Linked DNA regions of Homo sapiens: region 1 is linked to region 2. The links are contacts of gene promoters, found by promoter capture Hi-C in blood cells and fetal thymus (Javierre and others, 2016). All regions are on one chromosome and are shown on one strand. Each heading gives the region's core, a stretch centred on a gene start or on the middle of the fragment in contact. The rest is flanking DNA. Distances are from core to core; before and after follow the strand shown.

What was found. The method cuts DNA at HindIII sites, captures the fragments that hold promoters and counts their contacts. A CHiCAGO score of 5 or more calls a contact.
Region 1: the fragment with the promoter of FOXK2-AS1 here is called in contact with the fragment with the promoter of CYBC1 in region 2 in 1 of 17 cell types (M2 macrophages); the score reaches 5.1 in M2 macrophages.

What each region holds. Positions count from the first base shown.
Region 1 is chr17:82,587,172-82,592,960 of GRCh38, reverse strand. It overlaps FOXK2-AS1 (FOXK2 antisense RNA 1), which reads left to right and starts at 4,539. Exons shown (of 3, transcript XR_001753132.3): 1 at 4,539-4,705; 2 at 5,487-5,731. It overlaps FOXK2 (forkhead box K2), which reads right to left. Exons shown (of 9, transcript NM_004514.4): 8 at 5,689-5,789. RefSeq lists silencers at 874-1,168, 5,242-5,442. The HindIII fragment of the contact is 9,921 bases long and covers 3,786-5,789 here.
Region 2 is chr17:82,448,230-82,452,419 of GRCh38, reverse strand. It overlaps CYBC1 (cytochrome b-245 chaperone 1), which reads left to right and starts at 1,668. Exons shown (of 7, transcript NM_001033046.4): 1 at 1,668-1,720; 2 at 3,128-3,250. The coding sequence starts at 3,166. RefSeq lists silencers at 1,608-1,967, 3,278-3,327 and an enhancer at 2,598-2,857. The HindIII fragment of the contact is 1,869 bases long and covers 919-2,787 here.

The sequences.
Region 1 (5,789 bases), core at 3,290-5,789, 140 kb before region 2:
GAGCCTGTGCCCGGCGCAGGGAGACCTTCACAGGGTCTACTTTCAGAATAAGAGCCTGTGCCCGGCACAGGGAGACCTTCACGGGGTCTGCTTTCAGAATAAGAGCCTGTGCCTGGCACAGGGAGACCTTCACAGGGTCTCCCTCTGCCAGCGCGAACTGGGCATTTCACTCTCACTGCGAAGCGTGCGCCCTCACACCAGGCGCCACAGCTGAGATGCAGAGAACCCCAGCCAGCTTGAGGAGATGCCCCAGGAAACACTGGAGTCAACAAATGATATTTGAGGACCACGTAACTGCTACACAAGGAAGAAGAGCAGAGTTAGGCAGGAGGGAGCAAACGATCAAGGCAGGAACAATGTTAACGAAAGAAGCGAAAGGCAGGGCCTGAGGAGAATGTCGCAGGGTGAAGCAGCAGCAAAGCCCAGGCTTCCCAGCAGGGCTGGTCAGGCAGGCCTGTCCAGACAGGGAGTGGCCCCGTGAAGGGCCTCATGAGGTTCCTCCACTGTGAGGCTTGAGCTGTGGCAACACCTTCCACTGACAGTGATCTGTGAACCCTTAAGAAGGTGACAGAAAGAAAACAAGAGGACACACATGTGAGCCCCATGAAGGACCAGGACAGTAGAGAGGCCGGAGGAGTCAATATGTGAGCCAAGAGATGCTCCAGGACCGCAGCTCAGCCCAGGAGCACACTGAGCAGGCGAGGCCCTGGCCAAACACAGCTCAGCCCCGAACTCCCAAATCAAAACGACAACACTGGCTGGGTATGCTGGCTCGTACCTGTAATCCCAGCACTTTGGGAGGCCAAGGCTAGAGGATCACCAGAGTCCAGGAGTTTGAAACCAGCCTGGGCAACATAGTGAGACCCTGTCTCTACAAAAAATACAAAAACTTAGCTGGATGTGGTGCTGCACACCTGTAGTCCCAGCTACTTGGGAGGCTGAGGCAGGAGGATGGCTTGAGACCAGTAGGTCGGGGCTGCAGTGAGTTGAGATCTCGGCACTGCACTCCAGCCTGGGTGACAGAGCAAGACAGTATCTCAAAACAACAGCAGCAAAGATGAAGTCATTGACAAAAACACAACCACAGTTGTGCCAGTAAACCAGAAACAGCGCCTGCAGCCCAGAGACAGGAGATGAGCTTTGGAAACAGGAAGCAGAAGGGCCTGTGGTGTGGACGGCGGCACCCGCAGCCCTGAGGCAGGGGTCTCCCAAAGCGAGCTCTGAGGGTGCTTGTACACAGCACGTGTGATGGGAGGAAGTGAATATGCAAGAGCTTGGGCGCCTGGACTCTTCCCACATCTCCCTGCCAGGGAGACTTGGGAGCGTTTCCAGAAAATGCCAGGCTTTCCTTTCCATGTACTCAAAAAGGGGAGGCCTCAAGCCCTCCCCACACTCTGGAACAAGCTTGGAGCAGTTTCTTGGTGCCAGGCACATTTCTGGGGCTTCCCTTCCTGTAAGAGGAAGCCTCCCGGCTTCCATCTCCTCCAGGCCTTCTCCATGGGGCGGCAGCATGATGCACCCCAGCTCTGCACAGGGTTTGGGGCCCTGGAGCAGAGCAGGGGACACAGGAGCATTGGCAGGTGGGCAGGGTGTGGACAACGGCGACAACGGGACCAGGGGCCACCCTGGTGAACCTGACAGGCCAGGGATGGGCTCGCCTGTGTTTGAATGAGGCCTCCATGGAGACCCCTATGGAAGCAGGAATGAGGGTACACTCCAGCTGGAGCGACAACCCCAGAGTCACCTTCCAGGAAGACACTGGCAGCTCATGCCCTGCGCCTGCCCACGGAACTCACCTATCATCCCACCAAGCCACCTGCTGTCCTGCAAGGCCAGGGCTACAGTGCATGGCCGGAACATCCTGACCCCTCGTCCTGTCAGCCCCACCTCCCATCTGTCAGCACTGTCTTCACGACACACGCAGGGGCCAAGCCCTGAGCCCCGGGTCCCACAGCAGCTGGTGGCAGAGGCAGAACCGGCCCAGGCTGCCCTTGGGGCCAGGGTGAGGATGGAACCCCCTTAGGGCAGGCAGCCCAGCCTCGGCCTATCTGCTCGTGGTGCTGAGCCCTCTGGTACCCCTGGGAGAGTCTCAGGCAGCCTGTGCAGTCCCTCCCTGCACAGGACATTCTAACCCCATGCTTGGGTCAGAAAACTCGGCCACATCCACATAATTCCTCAGTAAAAATACTACATTTTCCTTGGGGTAATACACTACACTACAATTTAGTATAAACATAATTGCTTAATATAGTAGGAACCCAAAAATTTCATGTGACTGGCAGCTCTACTGCAATATTCATTTTTTTGCAGTGGTCTGGAACCAACCCTGCAATGTCTCTGAGTTACACCTACATGTCTGAAAAGGCCTGAAATCTCTACATATGAATAAAGAACTACAAATTTCACAACAAAAAGACAACCCAATTAAATGATGGGCAAAGGACTTAAAAAAAATTTCTTCAAAGAAGATACACAAATAACCATAAAGTACATGAAAAGACGTGCTGGCCAGAGGCGGTGGCTCACCCTGTCATCTCAGCACGTTGGGAGGCCGAGGTGGGCAGACTGCTTGAGCCCCGGAGCTTGAGACCAGCATGGGCAACATGGTGAGACACTACCTCCCAAATAAAAAATAAAAGACTACAAGAGGCCAAAATTATGAGCACCTGTGCAGTGGTTCTCATCCTAGGTGTTCAGCATCCAGGCTGTAGCCGACACTGTTTTAAGGAAAATCATTTCCAGAATCTCCTCTTGGTCCTGAAGTCTTTTCTTAAAGCCCATCTGCCACCTCCTCTCTCTGAACAGCCTCTCTCATCTGCTCAACTGGGCACTGGCTTTGGGGATGAAAACTATGGGATGGAGCATGAAAGCAATAATAGGAAATACTGGTGCTGACAAGACTTTTTTTTTTTTTTGAGATGGAGTCTCGCTGTGTTGCCCAGGCTGGAGTGCAGTGGTCTGAACTCGGCTCACTGCAACCTCCATCTCCCAGGTTCAAGCGATTCTCCTGCCTCAGCGTCCAGAGTAGCAGGGATTACAGGAATGTGCCACCACACCCGGCTAATCTTTGTAGTTTTAGTAGAGACGGAGTTTCACCATGTTGGCCAGGCTGGTCTCCAACTCCTGATCTCAAGTGATCCGCCCACCTCCACCTCCCAAAGTGCTGGGATTACAGGCGTGAGCCACCACACCCAGCCAAGATCACTGACAGACTTTCACGTTCATCTGGAAACAGGCCCTCAGTGCTGACACTGTCCTCTCCTTCCTGAGTGGAAACAGGCCCTCAGTGCTGACACTGTCCTCTCCTTCCTGAGTGGAAACAGGCCCTCAGTGCTGACACTGTCCTCTCCTTCCTGAGTGGAAACAGGCCCTCAGTGTTGACACTAGGACTGTGCAACCATCAGTGAATACAGAACGAATCAGGTGGTTTCCTTTAAAGCTAAATACACTAAGAAAGGCATCTTCAGTAACATTTTAATTTTTGGTTTTATAAGAATTTGTTATATTTTTGGGTTTTATCAATTTTGTTACTCATAGACAAACTTTAATATTTATATCTATATTTTATTGCTGCAGAGAAAAGATATGACTAATAAATGACATTTAAGCCTAAAGTATGTGACTCGTACAAAACCTGTTAGGGAATGTGAGATGGAAAGACCAGGCCACAGACAAGGGAGGATCTGGGCCGCTCCTGCCTGTGTGTCCACACGTGGGCAAGTGGACATCTCATGATGTCTGTATTTGGAGTCCAGTAGTACACTGAAAATAATCCCGTAAAAGCTTTATTTTAAAACATCAATATTTTCAATAGTGAAAAATTAAAACACTTGCTTAAATTTATAATGAAAAATTCCAGATAACTTAAATACATAAAAAGGATACCGTTTTTCTTTTTTTGTTGAGACAGAGTCTCGCACGGTCGCCCGGGCTGGAGTGCAGTGGCATGATCTCATCTCACTGGAACCTCCACACTCGGGTTCAAGCGATTCTCCTGCCTCAGCCTCCCGAGAAGCTACAACTACAGGCACCCGCCACCAGACCCGGCTAATTTGTTTTTTTTTTTTTTTTTTTAGTAGAAATGGTGTTTCACCATGTTGGCCAGGCTGGTCTTGAACTCCTGACCTCGTGATCCACCCACCTCGACCTCCCAAAGTGCTGGGATTACAGGCGTGAGGCACTATACCAGGCAGGGATACGGTTTTTCAAACTGCTTCTAAGAGAGGTGGACCCAGAAAGCCTCTGACCTGCACCGGAGGCTCTTGGCAGACCTGGACTGTTTCAGAAATGCATTCTTGGGCCCCACACCAGACAGGCCTAGTCGGGAACTCTGGGGAACGCAGCACTCTGGCCTCTAACAGCCAAGCCTTCTGGGTGATTCTGACACATATCGAATCTGGGAATCACTAGGCCTCTGCCTTGTCTTCAGACTGGGAGTGACTAAGACCAGAAAGCCAACCGCCTGCCCTCCAACCGCCTGCCCTCCAACCGCCAGCCCTCCAACCGCCAGCCCTCCAACCGCCTGCCCTCCAATAGCCAGCCCTCCAACCGCCTGCCCTCCAATCGCCAGCCCTCCCGGCTTCCATCTCCTCCCAGCTACCTGCAGTGCCACCAGGTTTATCACCTTAGAGCATCCACAGCCACAGTTACCCAGAGAGAAGAGAAGGAGGAGACACAGGGCTTGGGGACGAAGGCATTCAAACAGGTAACTGATGACTGCAAACTCTGCGATCTATCTACAGGCAGCAAGTGTTGCTATTACTTAAAAACAAAAAAAACCCCAGGTAGTCAGTCTTCCCTAGAAAAGGTTCCAGACCTTGTTCTTCCATAAATTTGGGGAGAGGCAGGGTGGTGCTGAGTCAGAGTAGGAGGTACCTGCAGGTTTCAAGGTCTCTGTTCGTAGCGTTCGGTAAGGATTCAAACGTCGTGATAAAGCCTTCTGACCTGTACCCTCTTTCAAAGAAAGCGTGTCGTGGGCACAGAGACAGTTTTAGTCGGTAGCTTCGGATTTGCCTGCTTGAGATCCCGCAAGCGCCAGGATCAGCCACACAGCCGGCAACAGCCCACATGTACCCAACCCAGAGCAGCGGGAGCCCACACCTGAGCCAGGCCCCAATGCCAGAGTTGACTCGGCAGCCAGCAGGGACTCCCACCCTTTCCACACTCCACAGGGCAGGGCGAAGGTAGATAACCCGGTGTCGGCGCGGAGGTTCTGGTGTCTCCACTTGTCAATGTCAGAACATCCGTGCGGTTTTCTGTGCACCGGCCTCGGACGGACTCTGAGAGCAAAGCGCACAGAAAAGCAGCCTCTCTCCCACCCTCAGCAGCATAGCACCGCCACAGGCCACAGGGCGCGCGAGGCCAAGGGAAAAGACACGCGGCGGCTCCCGCCGTTTCAGGCCGCTTCCAGGCCACACCCAGGAAATCTACAAGAGGCGAGAGTATTTTTCCCTCTCAATGTATTAGAAACTCTCATCTCTTTTCAGGCAGGTCCTCCCACGGGAATCCCATGACGGCCGACTCCACGACCACTTCCCCAGCATGACTAGATTTCCTGCAGCTTCGAAATGCAAACATTGCCTCAGACAAAAGCTAAAATTGTTACAGTCAGAACCGAAACCACGAGTGAGAAGGGGCTCTGCTCCCAGTACCCACAGCCACGGGGAGCCACCGACCAGCATGTCTTACCATTGTTCACCTGGCCGTGGACCGCAGTGGGGACTGATGCCACGTGAGTGCCGTTTTGTGTTACAGTTTTTATTGGTAGCTGGTGTTGACCTAGAGGTGCC
Region 2 (4,190 bases), core at 419-2,918:
AGGGAGTTTTTAGGTTAAGATAAGGGTTTGTGGAGACCAAGATTTCCATTAAGCAGAGGAAGTCTCCAGGTAGCAGGCTTCAGAGAGAATAGATTGTAAGTGCTTCTTATCAGAGTTCTCCCTGAAGCAGGAAAAAGACCTGGAAAGGAACGGGGATTCGCTACAGAATGTAGATTTTCTTCACAAGGGACAGCTTTGCAGGGCTATTTCAAAATAAGTCGAAGAAATTTAATGTGGGGTAAAGTACTTCCATTTCTTCCAAGGCTTCCTATCTGTCATGTAGTCCTATACCAGAGTCAGGCTGGAATTTGGCGTCATTGCTACAGAGTCTACTTTGTCAACTTCAAGATCTGTTTTTGTTTTGTTTTGTTATTTTTTATTGAGATGGAGTCTCACTCTGTTGCCCAGGCTGGAGAGCAGTGGCACGATCTCGGCTCACTGCAAGCTCTGCCTCCCGGGTTCACGCCATTCTCCTGCCTCAGCCTCCCGAGTAGCTGGGACTATGAGCACCCGCCACCACGCCCAGCTAATTTTTTTGTGTTTTTAGTAGAGATGAGGTTTCACTGTGTTAGCCAGGATGGTCTCAATCTCCTGACCTCGTGATCTGCCCACCTTGGCCTCCCAAAGTGCTGGGATTACAGGCGTGAGCCACCGCACCTGGCCACCTCAAGATCTGTTTTAATGTGAATGCTGGTCAGCTGTGTGCCTGAATTCCAAAAGGGAGGAGGGAGTGAGGTATGTCTGTCTCCCCCTTCCCATCACTGCCTGAGCTAGTTTTTCAGGATAACTTGGGAATGCTCTTGGCCAAGCGGAAGGGTCCATTCAGATGGTTGAGGTTTCGAATTGCTGACTGTATCCTTGTAGAATCCTTTAGTACAGTCTTGTCTTCCACATTTCCAGTAATTCACTCTAGAAGCTTGTTCACATTCAGGTTAAATTTTTTCTGGCAAGACTACTTCATAGTGTTGTGTACTTCTGATATCTAACTGACCTTTTTGCGATGTTAATTAGCAGTCATTGATGACATTGCCTAGGTCCGTTAATTCATAGGGTGATGTTTTAATCCTACTGTTTCTTCTTCATTTATTAGCGGGAAAACTTCTATAATGAGAAATTCTTCTCATGCAGTATTTGGTTACTCTGCTGTAAATTTCATAAAGGCAGGACAAATGCTTGATGCTTTCCTTTTATTAACCAGGCCACAAACTGGGGTGAGCTTACCAGCATCCTCCAAAGGTGAACAGAGTTAAAAAATACATTATTATGAATTACAGACTGGAGCATCTGAGGATTTTAAATTCACTCGAATTCCTGTTCTTATTCATGCTCAAATCTTCTTTTTTGGCAATGAGAACCGCTTCAGTTTCGCTTCTATGTTAGCAAGACGTTCATAGTCCTTGGTAAGTTCTTTGCTGTCGGATACGTTTCCCCGCACGTTTCTTTTTTTCAAGAAAACTGGCTTCTTTAGCAGGAACCACCCGCCTCCTCCTGCGGCTCCGCCCGGATCCCGGAAATCCGCTCGGCTCCGCCCCATCCAGGAAATGCTTGCGGCCCCGCCCCAATCCCGTAAGCGCGCGCGGCCCCGCCCCCAATCCCGGAAGCGCGCGCGGCCCCGCCCCCGAAAGTCGGCTCGGCTCCGCTCCAATCCCGGAAGTGCGCGCGGCCCCGCCCCCGCCGGTTCGCGTCTCTCTGCTGCGGCGCGGGGACCGCTGTGCTCTCGGTAGGCGGCTGGGCTGGGTGGGCTCCGCACTTCCTTCCCGCTCCGTGCCGCGCGTCCCGGCACCCTTAGGCCCACTCCGGGAGGGGTCTGCGTCCTGGGCCCGCCTGCCGGCTGTTCCGTGTCCCGCCGTGCCCGTCGCGGGCGGCCTCGCGCCTGTTCCGCTGCAGGTTGGCCCCGGCGGCGGGAGCGCCCCCGATCCGGACAAAGAAACGAGCGCTCGGTGCGACTAGCGGCGCGGGCGGCTTTGCCAGCGCGCGTGTGCTTGTGTCCGCGAGTGTGCGTGTGTGTGTGCATTTGGATGTGGAATGCCGGGTGTTTCGGGAGCAATGAGGCAACTGAGGCCCGGGAGGGAGCCCAGTCATATACCAGCATCTAGGATTGGTTTGTGTGATTTGAACCCACTATTTTTTATTTTTTTGAGACACGGTCTCACTCTGTCACCCAGGCTGGAGTCCAGTGGCACGATTTCTGCTCACTGCAGCCTCCACCTCCCGGCCTCAGGTGATCCTCCCAGCTCAGCCTCCTGAATAACTAGGACCACAGGCGTACACCACCACACCGGGCTGTTTTATGTATTTTCTGTGGAGACGGGGTTTCGCCACGTTGCCCTGGCTGGTCTTGAACTCCGTGACTCAAACAATCCGCACGCCTCGTCCTCCCAAAGTGCTGAGATTACAGGCCTGAGCCACCGCGCCCAGCCTGAACCCCCTACTTAATGTCAGAAATTTGATTTGACTTCACAGGGAAAGCCCTGAGAAACTACCAGAACGGGGTCCCTGGGGCCAGTGTTGGGAGCGTACGGTGAAGTGGCAGGGCTGCTGCGCCCGTGCGGAACTCCGCTGTGGAAGATTAGCCCCTTTGGTGACTCGTCGGTTCTGGCCGCTTTGGGACCCTCTACTGTGCAGTCTGAACTTTCAGCAGGTGGAGGAGGGCAGAGAGAGAGCTGAGATCGTTGGTCCATGCCAGTGCGAGAGCCAGTACGGCCGGAAGCCATGATGGGACTTTCAGTTCCTTTCTTGGTGGAGGCCAGCACAGGGGAGAGGGGGTGCCCACAGATGCTAGAAGCTTAAAGGCTGCTGGGGGCTAGCGGCCTCAGGACATAAGGTTTCCAGACAGGACGGGGCAGGTGGTGATGCAGCTGTAGCTCGTGAGTCTGAGCGGGAAACAGCCCCCGCGCAGTCGGTGTCGCTGTGAACGGAAAAGGGCCTTCCTTACACAGGAAACGGGGTCTCTGGGGGATCCAGTGACGTGCCCAACCACAGAGACCAGGTGAGACTGGCTGATGGTGTCTGGGGCTGCAGGTGACTTAGTTGGGGGACCTGCTCTTGGCCTCCAGACTGGGCCTGATGGCGTGGGCGCCTGCCTGTGTGCAGGCCCAAGGGCTCAGCTGCCTCTGTCTGTTCCCAGACCCCTCCTCCTGTAGAGAGTGGTGCTGCCCTCTCGGGATGTACCTGCAGGTGGAGACCCGCACCAGCTCCCGCCTCCATCTGAAGAGGGCTCCAGGCATCCGGTCCTGGTCCCTGCTGGTTGGTAAGGCTCTCCACGTCCCTCCCCAGAACCCCAGAACCGGAAGCCTGACTTTCAAAAAGGATGAAAATGAAACAAAATATTTTCTCTTTTTTCTATTACCTTGAAATCTAATGGCTATTTTGTTTCTTTGTATCCATTCAAATTCTATCTGGTGTACTTGGTTTTACAGATAATGCATGTCTGTTTTGTCCCCTTTTAATCACTAACACCCAGCGTATTTAATATACTCTATGAGCTTTTCTGAGGTCACCATATTTTCCTTTGTACTTGTTTTGAACCACGTGATGGGTGATCGTGGGTTCCCATGTCTCCTCCTCCCTGGTCCTCAGACCTCTTCGTAGGACTCACAGTCCACTAACCACGTGATGGGTGATCGTGGGTTCCCATGTCTCCTCCTCCCTGGTCCTCAGACCTCTTCGTAGGACTCACAGTCCACTAACCACGTGATGGGTGATCGTGGGTTCCCATGTCTCCTCCTCCCTGGTCCTCAGACCTCTTCGTAGGACTCACAGTCCACTAACCACGTGATGGGTGATCGTGGGTTCCCATGTCTCCTCCTCCCTGGTCCTCAGACCTCTTCGTAGGACTCACAGTCCACTAACCACGTGATGGGTGATCGTGGGTTCCCATGTCTCCTCCTCCCTGGTCCTCAGACCTCTTCGTAGGACTCACAGTCCACTAACCACGTGATGGGTGATCGTGGGTTCCCATGTCTCCTCCTCCCTGGTCCTCAGACCTCTTCGTAGGACTCACAGTCCACTAACCACGTGATGGGTGATCGTGGGTTCCCATGTCTCCTCCTCCCTGGTCCTCAGACCTCTTCGTAGGACTCACAGTCCACTAACCACGTGATGGGTGATCGTGGGTTCCCATGTCTCCTCCTCCCTGGTCCTCAGACCTCTTCGTAGGACTCACAGTCCACTTAGCCTCCCGTCCTCCA